Linked DNA regions of Homo sapiens: regions 1, 2, 3 and 4 are each linked to region 5. The links are contacts of gene promoters, found by promoter capture Hi-C in blood cells and fetal thymus (Javierre and others, 2016). All regions are on one chromosome and are shown on one strand. Each heading gives the region's core, a stretch centred on a gene start or on the middle of the fragment in contact. The rest is flanking DNA. Distances are from core to core; before and after follow the strand shown. Region 1 overlaps CHRM3 (cholinergic receptor muscarinic 3). Region 2 has its middle 68 kb from the start of CHRM3-AS1. Region 3 overlaps LOC105373224 (a long non-coding RNA gene). Region 4 overlaps LOC105373224 (a long non-coding RNA gene). Region 5 holds the start of CHRM3 (cholinergic receptor muscarinic 3).

The links. The method cuts DNA at HindIII sites, captures the fragments that hold promoters and counts their contacts. A CHiCAGO score of 5 or more calls a contact.
Region 1: a fragment that was not itself captured here is called in contact with the fragment with the promoter of CHRM3 in region 5 in 13 of 17 cell types (activated CD4 T cells, naive CD4 T cells, total CD8 T cells and 10 more); the score reaches 21.8 in activated CD4 T cells.
Region 2: a contact is called between a fragment that was not itself captured here and the fragment with the promoter of CHRM3 in region 5, in 2 of 17 cell types (activated CD4 T cells and non-activated CD4 T cells). The highest score is 6.9, in activated CD4 T cells.
Region 3: a contact is called between a fragment that was not itself captured here and the fragment with the promoter of CHRM3 in region 5, in 3 of 17 cell types (total CD4 T cells, non-activated CD4 T cells and naive CD8 T cells). The highest score is 5.4, in total CD4 T cells.
Region 4: a contact is called between a fragment that was not itself captured here and the fragment with the promoter of CHRM3 in region 5, in 5 of 17 cell types (total CD4 T cells, naive CD4 T cells, non-activated CD4 T cells and 2 more). The highest score is 9.5, in total CD4 T cells.

The regions. Positions count from the first base shown.
Region 1 is chr1:239,910,793-239,913,492 of GRCh38, forward strand. CHRM3 (cholinergic receptor muscarinic 3) reads left to right here. Exons shown (of 7, transcript NM_001375978.1): 7 at 1-2,700. Among named protein-coding and RNA genes, the nearest start is that of CHRM3-AS1, 12 kb to the left of the region's middle. The HindIII fragment of the contact is 1,531 bases long and covers 665-2,195 here.
Region 2 is chr1:239,966,274-239,968,973 of GRCh38, forward strand. No RefSeq gene overlaps it. Among named protein-coding and RNA genes, the nearest start is that of CHRM3-AS1, 68 kb to the left of the region's middle. The HindIII fragment of the contact is 1,399 bases long and covers 559-1,957 here.
Region 3 is chr1:239,949,150-239,951,849 of GRCh38, forward strand. The region is part of intron 1 of LOC105373224 (a long non-coding RNA gene); the gene reads right to left. Among named protein-coding and RNA genes, the nearest start is that of CHRM3-AS1, 51 kb to the left of the region's middle. The HindIII fragment of the contact is 948 bases long and covers 826-1,773 here.
Region 4 is chr1:239,927,034-239,929,733 of GRCh38, forward strand. All of the region lies in intron 1 of LOC105373224 (a long non-coding RNA gene), which reads right to left. Among named protein-coding and RNA genes, the nearest start is that of CHRM3-AS1, 29 kb to the left of the region's middle. The HindIII fragment of the contact is 5,383 bases long and covers 1-2,700 here.
Region 5 is chr1:239,385,217-239,387,916 of GRCh38, forward strand. CHRM3 (cholinergic receptor muscarinic 3) reads left to right here and starts at 1,352. Exons shown (of 7, transcript NM_001375978.1): 1 at 1,352-2,011. RefSeq lists enhancers at 2,074-2,574, 2,575-2,700. The HindIII fragment of the contact is 9,736 bases long and covers 1-2,700 here.

The DNA of each region.
Region 1 (2,700 bases), core at 180-2,679, 530 kb after region 5:
GCATTCGTGTTGTGAACCCAGAGCTGGGTAGAAGCTGCTTTTGTATTCAGTGTGAGGTGGTGTTTACAGACGACTTTGACAACAGTAGAAGTGTACTCAGTGGTGTCTGTGTATCTGAACTATTTAATTTCGTGTTATGTTTATATGCAGAAATATTTATGGATACTACACCAAGTGTTTATTTAATGTTGATAAATATGACTCTTCAGTCGTCAGCCATGGTGTCCTTTCAAAGTGATTCTTTAAGGTCCACTTGAGCAATGAATAGAGTATATTGGAGCTTTCCTGTGGCTAAGAAGAAGAAACATGTCATCCTGTTGGCATCACCAAGCACCTAACTCTTTCTAGGTAATAAAAAGTCAACGGTCACTTCAACGTAAATGTTTAAAACCACTCTTTAGTTAAATCTGATGGGAACTGAACAAAGCTCCACCATTGTGTCTGAAATCATTTTACACAGGGAAAAAAAAAAACAATCAGCATAATTGTAAGAATGATTTTTTTGGGCCCACATTCAACCAAAGAACAAGAAAGAAACAGACGATTTTCTAATATGTACACAGCAAACTACAGAATGTCATATTATCCACCTGTGAAACATCTAGTAAGCAATTGCATCTATATTTTATTTCTCAAGTTGGCCTGGCACTAATAAATATGTGAAAGCTTATTCAAGTGTCCCAGTACTTCAGCACTTCCCATCCTTTTGGAAACTCCTATCTTGCCTCCCTCCCAAAAGGGCTGTTTCTTTTATTAAAAAAAAAAAAGAAATAGAATTAAATTTGAGAAAAGGAGAAACCCTGAAATTTAACAGAACTTTGAGAGTCACTTCCAATCTCCTTAAACATGATTATCTCCTTATCCTTGTCCTTTTGTGATGCTAATAATAGCAGAAAAGGAACAAATCCAAGACTCTAGGTCTCCCTTTTTTGTTTTACTGGTTTTATTATAGAATTGTTTTTAAGCCTCTTATGGATGAAAGCTGCATTTAAATACTATCTACTGATTTTATAGAAAGGTATGTCCATTTCTTGGGTCACTTTCAGAGAAAGAAAACAAGCAAAATAGGTTCTTTTGAATATGAATAATTTAAAAGCATAATTGAAGATGTAGTGAGTATTTATAATTGGACCTTAGTTACACGTGCATTTCTCAAAGGGCTTGTCATTACAGGAGATATTCAGCACTTACCTAAGATCAAAATGTCTTCATCCCAAATTGGGAATCGAATTATTTCATGCCATATGCATGAGGTTTGCAGACATTTCAAGATTAGCCACTTTGCTTGAAAGAAGAAAATGATCAAACCTAAAATAAACTACACATGGAGAATCTCTCTCTCTCTCTCTGCCTCTCTCTCTCTCTTTCTCCCTCTTCTTCCTTCTCTCTCTCTCACAAGCACACACACACACACTCAATCTCCATTCTCCAGGCATTGCCAGATGGTTAGGAGAAGTGAGCTCTCTCTGGTCCCCTAGATCCCTCGGCTCTGCTCTCCTTTGCCCATCAGCTCCCTGTGGCCTCTATGCTAGTCCTCCCTATTCTCCTAGTCACCCTTTGCCTCTTAAGCCCAGCCTTGACTCTCTACATATTTTTCATTTCTCTTTACCCTTTAGTGTACAATAGTTGTAGACTCTGACGGAATGAAAACAAACAAGAAGCCTAAGCGTTAGACCCTGCTGTGGCTAAAGATCTAGAAGGCATATCAGTTTTCTCTGTCAGGCTTCCTACGTTGCCCTCGTGCAGGGCTCATTGCTCTGCAGAGCGCTGGAAGCCCCTTCATGTATCGAGAGAGAAGCTGGAGCACAGAGCTCTGATGCACAGTTGGCTGTTTCAGCTCTGACTCAGGGAGGAAAGAAGGATGCCAAGGCTCTGTCACAGCGGAGAAGTCTAATACCAGAGTGGCACAGAGAAGGATTCCAGGGATCAGTCAGGGTGTCCTGTACCTATCTGAGTAGAGATGATTCAAGGATGGGGACATATTCCAGGAAATTGCACAATCTTCCCCTGGCAGCTTCAGAGGACGAGTGAAAATAGTGCAGTATAGTCAAAGAAGCAATGAATTTAGGATGAGGAACCTGAAGTTTCTGGACCAGTTTGGTCACTGCTTAGTTACATGTCCTTAGGAATGCTTGTCACTTAACCTAAACTTTCTGGGTTTTATCCTCATTGCTCAAACTAAGCAACAACACCGAAGCTTCTCTAATTTGCCTTCTGATGCCAAATCGGTCAAAACTGAGGTCAGCAGCTACCATGACGAAAGTAAAATGGTATATTGGGTGAATGTTTGAAAATTTCAGATTTTATATTCTGTAAAGTTATTTACTTACTCTATTTCAACACCACAAAATCTTGAAATTTGGAAGGTAACCAAGGAAGCTTTGAAATTTGTTGGCAAACCCGGAGTAGTATGGTTTCAAATACCACTCCAACCCAGCACCTGAGGTCGGGCAAACTCACAAAATAGAGTTTCTAGGTAGCAGGTGTTTGCTTTGGTTTTGCAATAGCATTTCTCATAACAGAACTGAAACTGTATAGATTACAACACTCCAAAGTTATTTTTTTTTAACCTAAAGAACCCTACTTCTAGCACCTCCTCTGAAAGAATATTTTGCTCCAATACCACGTGCAACAAACTTATTTAGACAGTATCAACTCTAGCCCTTAATAGGTTCAAGGACAAGTTTACTGCTTCCTTTC
Region 2 (2,700 bases), core at 8-2,507, 580 kb after region 5:
TAAAGGAAATAATGTAATGCAGTTAGTTGATGTCTAGGTCTTCTCTGACCTTCTATCCCTACCTCATCCTAGAGCACCAGGAACCTTCCCTAGCACAGCACTAAGGTCCCAGCAGGACAACTGCTCTGTCACTGACCAGCTCTGCTCCTGACTGTCTGGCTCCATGGGGCCAGAGATTTATCTGGTTCACCTTTGTATTTCTAGTGTCCACTCTGCTGATTGCATTGTCATCGTAGGTACTCAATAATTTTTTATTAAATGAATAAATATGGTGAGTCAAAATTCACAATCTGATTATTGGTCTTTATATATCTAAACTTTCCTTCCCTTCTTCCTTCCTTCCTTCCTTTTTGTTTCCATTGAAAGTCTGAGACTGAAACCACATCGCTGAGTGGAGGAACCTAACTTGCTTCATGCCAAGAGTCACTCATCACAAAGCAGGGGAAAGCCTTCCTTTGATTGAGATTGGCCACCAGACATAAAAAAGAGTATCAGAGAGGATTTTTAAAACATGCCTCATGTGAAACCATCACCTACATCCTACACTGAGGCTTACCAAGCTTCTTCAGGAGACAAAACAGCATCTCCCTGGAGGAAAGTAAATCTCCGTTTTTTTGTTTCTCTGGTTTTCTAAAGTGGGCAAATGTTGGTTTTTACAAGAAAATATCCTTGGTCCTCGACTTCTGTGGCATCCCATGAGCATCAGAACACAAACTGCCCAACACACACAAAAATTGCATGCTCTATTCAGATCAATAAAGCAAGATGGAAAATTAACTAAATGCAGGGCTTTCTAGGGCCATTAAAATAATTCATCAGGGCAAGGTGTGATGGCTCATGCCTATAATCCCAGCACTTTAGGAGGCCGAGGCAGGCGGATCACCTGAGGTCAGGAGTTCAAGACCAGCCTGGCCAACATAGCGAAACCCCGTCGCTACTAAAAATACAAAAATTAGCCATGCATGGTGGTGGGCAGCTGTAATCCTAGCTACTCAGGAGGCTGAGGTGGGAGAATTGCTTGAACCTGGGAGGCAGAAGTTGCAGTGAGCCAAGATCGTGCCACTGCACTCCAGCCTGGGTGACAGAGCAAGACTCCATCTTACTTTAAAATATAATAACAATAATAATTCATCATAATATGCTGAGTTAAACAAGAGGCAAACCTGAATAAACAAAGTTTCTATGTACACCCAGGTCATAGGATAGAATTCATGTTGAATATTCCAGCATTTCTTAACAGGCAATTAGGAATTTGTTCTAATTGTTTTACTGTGCTCTCTGTGGACATATTGTCTATATGATTAGCGTGTGAGACACCAAAAAGCAGCAACTCCTACTCATCTTTTCATTGTTTTACTTAGAAAATTGGTTAAATTAGGGAATAGTTAAATAACGTTGCCAGGATTCCATTTGTAGCCAGTTCTAGTCTCTTTTATCAGTAGTTTGCTTTGCCTTTCAGTTAGTTGTTCATGGAAAAAATATATAAATTACTTATTCTACAAGTAAACATCAACACATACAATGGGATACCACTCATCCTTTAAAAGAAATGAGATCTACTATATGGATGAACTTTGACAACATTATGCTAAATGTAATCAGCCAGGCAGAAATGTACAAATATTGTACGATTCCACATGTATGAGGAACCTAGAATAGGCACCGTCAGAAACAGAGAGTTGATAGAGATTCCTATGGGATGAGAGTTAGGAGGATTGCGGAGTTATTGTTTAATGGACACAAAGTTTTGGTTTGGTACAATAACAAATTTCTGGAAATGAATAATGTGAATAGACTTACTATCACTGAGTTGTATACTTCAAATAGTTAATATGGTAAATTTAATGTTATTATCTTTTATCACAATTTTTAAATGGCCCAAATAAGTACAAATCAACATAACATTATTTATTTGCTCACTAGATAGGAAATCATATTATTAAATTTCTTTATAAAAAGCTTAAATGTGAAATCTTTTTGTCCAAAAAATGTATGTCCAAAAAATAGATCAAAGTAGCTCTGGAAACCCTTCAGACATTAAGAATAAGATAGCTGGGAAAGAAATAGTGAAGGCCAGCTCTGATTGCCAGACAGAACTGTGGGCAGCCTGAGGAGACCTATCACTGACATGTCCTCAATAACTCCACCACAGGATAGATATTCAGCAACCATTTGGCTTTGCTTTCAATTAAAAAGATTACCTTTTCATTTAACTTAAAAAGTTGAAATTCCATGGGATCACTTGCTGATTGCCATGACTTAAAAAATAGACATATTTAAGTTTTAACTTGGCTTTTAATTTTATAGGAAGAGTGTGAAAGTGTAAAGGAGGAGAGAAAGTGTCACCTTTTCTTTTCGCGCGAGAAAGCGTGACTTCAAGATTGGCAAAGGCATAAAATATGGAATCCTTATGGGATGCATCTGGGTGGGCTGATGCTGGCAATTCTACCCCTAGAAATACCCAAAAGAAATAAAAGCTAACGTATATGTCAAAACTTTTACATAGATGTTCAAAGAGGTATTATTCATGATAGCCAAAAACCCCAGAATCAATCCAAATATCTACCTACCGATGAACAAATAAACAAACGTAGTATATCTATAAATGAAATATTATTCAGCATTTAAAAAGTAATGAGGTACTGACACATGCTATACCATTGATGAGATATATACATAATGTTATTCAGTCTTATTAAA
Region 3 (2,700 bases), core at 50-2,549, 560 kb after region 5:
CTTTAAAGGAATTTGCCCTTTAAACAGGCAGGGAGTCTCATGCCATTCTCAGTCCCTCCCCCAACAGCAGCCTGCCCGGGCCTGCTCCTCTGCGAGACACTGTAACTGAAGTATCGCTCCTGTCGAGGTATCCTACAAACAGTCACAGCTCCCGTTCCCGTCTCCATCTGATTACGTCTGTGGAAATTCACTGTCCATCTCCATGACCCACTTGGCTTTTTTTTTTCCGAGATGGAGTCTTGCTTTCTTGCCCAGGCTGGAGTGCAGTGGCGCGACCTCGGCTCACTGCAACCTCTGCCTCCCAGATTCAAGCGATTCTCCTGCCTCAACCTCCCGAGTAGCTGGGATTACAGGTGCCCGCCACCATGCCTGGCTAATTTTTGTATTTTTAGTAGAGATGGGGTTTCACCATGTTGGCCAGGGTGTTCTTGAACTCTTGACCTCGAGATCCGCCTGCCTCAGCCTCCCAAAGTGCCGTGATTACAGGCATGAGGCACCATGCCCAGTCACCACTTGGCTTTTCCAGTAGCCAGAGAGGCAAGGAAAATAAGGAACAGTGGGCATTACCAACTTGCATTTCTCAAGGGGTTGATGACACTGCTCACCCCTCGGTCTCCTCCATGGATGATGTGCTGCGTTCAGTTTCCTCTCAGGAAGGTGTAGTTCTAGGGACCTCTACTTGGGCCTTCCTTTCTTAATAAGCAAAATTTTTGGGATCAGAAAAAAAAATGTGGAGATTCTACCAGTTGCTAAATCTACCTATTCCCATTATCCATTCTGGAACTGGAGAGTAACCACAGGAGGAGGCCATGGTTCCACTGGACAAGCTTAACCTGCGGCCAAGGCAGCTCCTGTCCCCAGACCTCCAAAGCCCCTGCTTCAACTGATGGGCCACACAGCATTTCTGATGTTGGGGATTCAAAATATGCTCAGAACATATAGACAAAATTCTCCAGAAAACGCATGTAGATGTTTCCCTTCTTCCAGAGTGTGGTCACAGCAGTAATTGCCTTTGACTTTGGGGCCATTTGGGGAAGCTGATGGAAAAGATACATGGCACATATCTGAGACTCCATTGCAGGGCCATTCCTTGAAGGGCTCCAATCTCTTCCTCAGCATAGGAGCTCAGAGTCGGGCCATTGCTGGCTTATGTTTCATAACTAGTTTAGAGACAGTGAATCCTCACTGTAGCAACAATCATATCTAGAATTGTTTTCTTGGTAGGCCATCCATCAGTTTCATTTGTAAGGACACCTGATCAATTACCCCACACCACGTATCCTTGTGGGTCACACTCTCTAATTCCCATCCTGCCCCCGTGGCATACTGTGTGGCATACTGTGTAAAGGACAGCCATGCACAGGGCTCTTCAAAGACGCTGGCGCCTCCCTTGCCAATGCTGTGATGAAAAGTGTGAGCTCTGCTTCTCCCAGCAGGCAAGATTAGGGATGGCTGAGCAGACTGCACATCATAGCTCCATCCCACCATGCCTGTCCTTATGCATTCCAACTCCTTCCTCCCTCCCTCGGCAGTGTGGCAAGGACATTTTAGCATTCTGACCTCATTATCTGGAGGCCATGATAAGGCCAGAATATCAACACCACTAGCAGGTGGTCAACCCAACACTTGGAACCCAAATCCATAGAGAGCACTCTCATGTCAATGAATTCAGTCCAATCAAGACCTTTATTTTGCTCCTTGGTCCACCGCCTTGGACCGACTCCCACTCCTGCTGCCCAGGCTTTTGCCAGCATGGACCTGCAAGGTCCCATAAGCTTTCAGCGTATAGTCGTCTCCTCCAGGGCAGTCCTGGCAACACTCTATCCTGGCTATTTTAACATCTATCTTTAGATCTGTCTTTTCTTACGGGTTCCCAACTGTACAGTGAAGCAAGATCAAGCAGTTCCTTCATTGCACAGATGACCTCCACCCTAAGTGAAGAGTGAATCTGAGGGGACAAACGGAAGTTATCTGTACATCAAGCTAACAATGGATTTTTAAACAGAAATCAGAACAATCTTTTAGAGGTAATGGATACATGTACACTTCTTTAATGGCAGTGATGGTTTTGTGGAATATATTTCAAGACTCATGGAATTGTACATTTTAAATTGATTGGTTCTTTGTGAAATTGATTATACTTCAAAAACCCTTAAAGAAATTTAAATACTAACACACCTGGGAATTTGAGCACTTTATACTGATCAACATAAAATATAAATAAACCATTCATATTGCAAAACGTATTATGGAGTCATAATGAGGAATTCTGGAAGGCTAGAATAATTATATGTAACGGTGTATTATGATTCACACCGCTCATGTGTATGAATACATGTTACATACGATTATATGTAACAGTGTATTACGAAGCTAGAGTTTAATTTATTGAAGCCATTTCTACTTTTATTTTTATTTCTAAAGAATATAAAACATTTTTAAACTCCAAATTTAATATGTTATCTAAGTGAAACAAAGTCAAATGCAAAAATGTCAATATCTGCCTTGTGAAAGGCAGAAGGTCCTTGGAAGTCAATGATAAGACATAAATGAAAGGCCACCAGAGGGCAGTGCAGGACTGCTTAGGACAATGAGTGCCCCACCTCAACATTTCCACAAGCTAGCATTGAAAACACGTTTTATCATCTTACAGAATGTCTAAATAAATATTTATTTGCTATTATTCTTTCATATAATTTG
Region 4 (2,700 bases), core at 146-2,645, 540 kb after region 5:
TTATAGGTGCTGACAAAAAAGTTGAAAGAGTTCTTATCTCAGGCTTTCTCAAAGGGTGAAAAAGCTGGTAGCACCAAGGCACAGCAGAAGTGGAACTTCTGAGATATAAATTTGAGGGACTTTTTAAAAAAAAAAGGTTATAAAATTAAAAATGAGAACCTCTTATAATTTAAGAGCGAATTAATATCTTAAGAAAATCTTATTTAAATATAGGGAGCTAAATTTTAGAAAAATTATTATAAATTATTTTATAAAATTGTAACTAACTAAGACAGGGTCTGACTTTGTTGCCCAGGATGGAATGCAGTGGCCTGAACAAGGCCCACTGCAGCCTTGACCTCCCAGGCTCAAGTGATCTTCCCACCTCAGTTTCCTGAGTAGCTGGGACTGTAGGCACGTGCACCAGCAAACCTGACTAATTTTTCCACTTTTTGTAGAGATGGGTTTTTGCCGTGTTGCCCAGGCTGGTCTGGAACTCCTGAGCTCAAGCCATCCACCTGCCTTGGCCTCCCAAAGTGCTGGGATTGCGGGCATGAGCCACTGCACCCAGACATAAACTTTTTTCTAATAAATTGTCTTTTATGAACCTTATTATTACTTTCATAGACCATCAATGACATTCTTAAATTTTTGCTTTGTCCTAAACCAAGTTCTTTTTTAAATAACTAATAATTTTATTTTAGGACAAAAATTTACCATACTAAATTTTTTCATTTATTAAAACTATTTTTATAGTCATAACCTTTAAAATATTTCTCTCTCCTACTTCCTGGGTTTTCTTTAACCTTGTTTTGTGAATAACTTTCCAGGTCTATAATTTAAATCAACCTTTAGATAATTTCTGAATTAGACAAAATTATTCTTTTTTTAATAAGAACATATTTTTGGTACACTTTATATACAGAATTACATATTAACTAGAATCTTTATTCTTAGTAACCTTAAATTTTAGTGAAAACCAAGGAAGCAAGAAATTTTGAATTGTCTGCCAGACATTCATACTTTATGGATGAGAACCACTCCACAATTTTTAGAAACATTTTTTTTTAATATCATAACCCTTTCTTAGTTGGAAATAATGGTTATTTAAGATAATTTTAAGATTTCAATTATACAAAAGTTTACCCATAAGCATTTGTCTCATTTATATTAATTTATTTTTTTTAACAGTTTAACTAGATTACTTATGAAAACTGAGATATTAGACAAAGATAGTCATCATTTAAAATTATTCCTCTGTTAACCATTTTTATAGCCTCTGAATATCAGGTGTTTACCTAAGTAGAAACTTAGAGTAAACATATGGATACTTTTGCCAATAACTCAGAAGGTTTAGCTGTTTTCATTAAACCAACAACATCAAATTGGCCCTATTTATCAAAAATATATACAAATAAAGATTATTTTGTTTTTGGCTGGGTTTATAGCTTTGTATGCTTCATGCCAAACCCTGACACCATAATACATTTAGCAAAGACAAATATAAAACCATTTAGCCAATAAACCCAGACACAAATGTATGCTGATAATTTTGAAGATATTTAATTTTAATTTTATTTATAATTTTAAAGCCAGTTTTTAAATTAAAGATTTATTTAAATCACATTAACTTGAAAGATATTTGGAGTTATGTACTTAATTTATGAGTGTTTTATTATTTATAAGCCAAGTTGGTATCGTGTAGACTTAATATATAACACAATATATGTTTATATAAGTAAATTTATCTAAACACACACACATATAAACAAGGATTTTACAGCTTTTACTTCGGAATTCTAGCCATGAGATGGTAATACAAACTCACCAGTTTATAAAAGATGGCTGAATCTGAATTATTTTGGACAAAATTGGGAGCCTGTCCACATGGCTAAACTTTGTGTGCCTTGGTAGGTAGTCCAATGAAGGCTGTGAACCAAAGAAGTTTTTACGGGAAAAAAACATTTTTATCCTTTCCCCTCCACTCCCAGTTTTAAATGAGTTTTAATGTTTACATTTCAGCTAGTACTGGCAGAACTGTATAAGAAAAACAAAATCCCCAAGTAACTTTGAGTTAGTAGTACCACGAACAGAGAGTTTTATCTCAAAACCAGTAGCTTAATAATAGCAGATTAGAAGTAGGCAGAAAAGAAAATAAAGAGAAAGATTCACAAAGAGTTTTTAATCCTATAGCTGCAAATCAACCTTTTGAGTTCTGGATTTTCCTCACTGTCATTTGCCCATCAGTTTAAAATGTGCACAATAGCAGGCCATGTATGTAACCAGCTGGAGTCCTAGAAAACATGGCGTGCCTTTTAACTTTCCCAGAGTTTTTGCAGTTTTTCTGCCCTTAGTGGATAAATTACTCATTGTACTGATCTAAAGAGGACACCTCTTGTTTTCCCAATTCTCAAGATGCAGCCTAATGGGGCTGCCTGGAGGAACCTAACCAACATTTCCCATTCTGGCTGAGAGGACTCACACGACAAAAACACAGATGCTAGTCACTCTGCTCAGTGCCCAGATCTGACGTGGAAAGATTCAACCTTGCCTCTGCGGGCCCCGGCACCTTTGATCCAGGGATCAAAGTGGAAAGGAATGACCTGTGCCCAGGAGTTCAGCAGGTGGTCTCTGGGCAAGGTGGAAAAGTGGACGGCCACCCTAAGTGAGGCCTGCTGAGCTTTCACTAGCAATTCCTTTAGGGATATTTTTCACAAATAT
Region 5 (2,700 bases), core at 102-2,601:
ATTGTTATTATTATTACTATTCTAGTATCCTGGATGCAATTTACCTAAGCCTAGATATTTTAATTAATTTAAGTAGCCACATGCTTTCTCACTAGCTATTTTCCCAGCATGATCTCAATCTTTTCTACGCAAAGTTTAGTCTCTTCTCTCCTAAAGATTGTTCTACCTAGAGAAGAATATAGGTTCAGAAAGGAATTCATATACTGGTGTTTCTCTAATCTCTTAGAATTACTTAATTTTTCAAAGAGCTCTATCTTTTCCTATTTATCTTCTTGTTCCAAATAGAATTAAAATCATTTGCTGCCTTTAATATTGTTAAATATTTCATTTCATACTATGCTTCAATTTCTTGCTTTTTTCTTCTTTTTATCTTCCTCCTTCCTTCCTTTTTCTTTCTTTTCTTCTTTTTCAGTTATCATTGTTATGCTTGTCCTTTCTTGTGAGATTCCTCTGTTATCTTTCCTTATGTGCTTTTTAAACAAAACCTCGAGAGTGCCGTGGGACAGCCTCATTGGTATCTTTTCAAATTTGGTATCTCTCCACTTTTTCCTTACATAGTTAGCTGGCAGTAGTACATAATAACCTTTTCTGTCTCTCTCTCTTTCTTTCTTTCTTTCTTTCTTTCTTTCTTTCTTTCTTTCTTAGATTTTCATTCCTCTTGAGCTTTAAAAGACTGGCTAGCAATGTTATATCTTTCATTTTATTTTCTGATTTAAAAAAGTGTGTGTGTGTGTGTGTGTGTGTGTGTGTGTGTGTGTGTGTGTACGCGCGCGCGCGCGCGCGTGCACGTCAGTGTCTTCTTCATGGATGCTTGTCTTATTTTCTCCCAAGGTGTAACTGTCCAGGGAGGGAAAAGTCAAGTCGTCCTCTATTACACTGCTCTGCAGAAACAGACTCACTAAATGTCAAAAAGTAGATGCATCAGACTGTTCCTTAGAGAAAGGTTTGCCATGGAGTCGTATATTGTAACTGAGCTGAAGTTCACTCATCGATAAGTTGTGCCCAAGGAATCGAATTCCTTCCAGTCCTTCTAAGCAGTCCAGGGAAACCAATTTAAAAGCGAACACAACAAAACTAACAGACCGGCAAAATCTATCTTTGAAGCGCCGCGGGAGGCACAATTTGGGAACAGGTGAGGCCATGCTGGGTGGGTGAGGCCCCCCTCTCTCCTGCTTGGTGTTCCGCTTTCAGCCAACCCACCCCAGGAGTACCCTGGGATCTCCTCGCCCCCTGCCAGGCGGAGAACGCGGAGCCCAGCGGGCACGCGGGAATGGAGCTAGGCGCCGGCAGGGCAACTGGGCATGCTCAGAAGCCGGGCAGGTTTTGGTCTCAAGCACGCAGCCTGTGCATTACACCAGCTCTCTCAGTCCGGGGAGGAGGAGGAGCAGGAGGAACGCGAGGAGGAAGGAGAGGAGGAGCGGCCAGCAGTAGCCACGACCGCCACCACCAGGCAGAGGAAGAGTTCGTGGGGAGGAAAAGACCTCTCCTCCCCCTTGGAGCGCCTTCTCTCTGCTTTTGGAGAAAGGGAATACACGATAAAGAAGGAGACGGAAAGAAGAGAAAAAGTGAGGCGGGAGACAGAGGGAAAAGGGCGTGAACAGAAAGGGCCGGAGCGTGCAGGGGAGCACAGGGCGCGGGGGCGGCACTGCCGAGCCGGGAGCGCTGCCGCTTGGGCAGGTGCCGCGGCCGCTGCCCGGAGGCGGCATGTGACGCGCGGCCGCAGCTGCCCGCGGGCGGAGCGCTCTCAGACCCCGGAGCGCACACCGCGGGGCCATCGGTGCCATCGCGGATCTCCAGGCTCCTCATCAGTCCGCCGGGGCCGCAGCAGCGCTTCTGGGAAGACGGGCGATGAACTGAAGGGCGGCTCCGGGCAGGGGGGCACGATCTTAAGGACAGTCGCTCCCTGAACGCGGAGCCGGAGGAGACGAAGGGAAGGTGGAGCGGACGCCACCCGCGCACCGGGCAGGCGCGGAGACCGGCGTGGGACAGCCACCTGGAGCGCAGCTGCCAGGTAGGGACGGCGCCCGCCACCCAGGCGCTGGGCAGAGCGGGTGGCGGTAGCGGCTGACCTGGTTTCTTGCCTTATCTCGTTGCGAAAGGAGGAAAAAGTTTTCGGCGCGGGTAGGAGAGGTCTTGTGTTTGGAGTCCAAAGAAGGGGCTGGGTAGGGACGAGAGAGGCTGTTGATTTGGGGAAGATGGGGGCACTTGAATTCCGACAGCGCGATCTGGTGCGGAGTTGGAGTTCTGGGACTGAGGGTGGGGAACGCCCGCTGGCACTCAAGTGCCCCGAAAGGGACGGGAATCATGCGAGCGGTGGCCGGGAGAGAGTCGGGGACGTCCCACCCCGCTCTCCCTCGCTTCGATTCTCTCTTCGCCACTGCCGGATCTGAGGCTCCAAAGTGCCCGAGCATGAGGAGCTACTGGGCTCCGGGTGTGTTTGTGAGCGCACTCGTGTGTTGAGCGTTTGTCTCCCATCTCCCCATTTGGTTTCCTGTCATTTCTAAGAAGGCTAAAGCTGGCACCCGCCAACCTCGCAGTGGGGCCGCAAGTTCGGATTGCATTTCAGGGGGCGAGAAGGCAAATTTGGCACTTCGAGTAACACTTGGGCGAAGGTACCTAGCCTAGTGCGCATCTTTACTGACCCGGGGAGAGTCTGCACTCGCGAGGCAGCGGCCGCTGGACTGCACCGGTTCTCCTCTT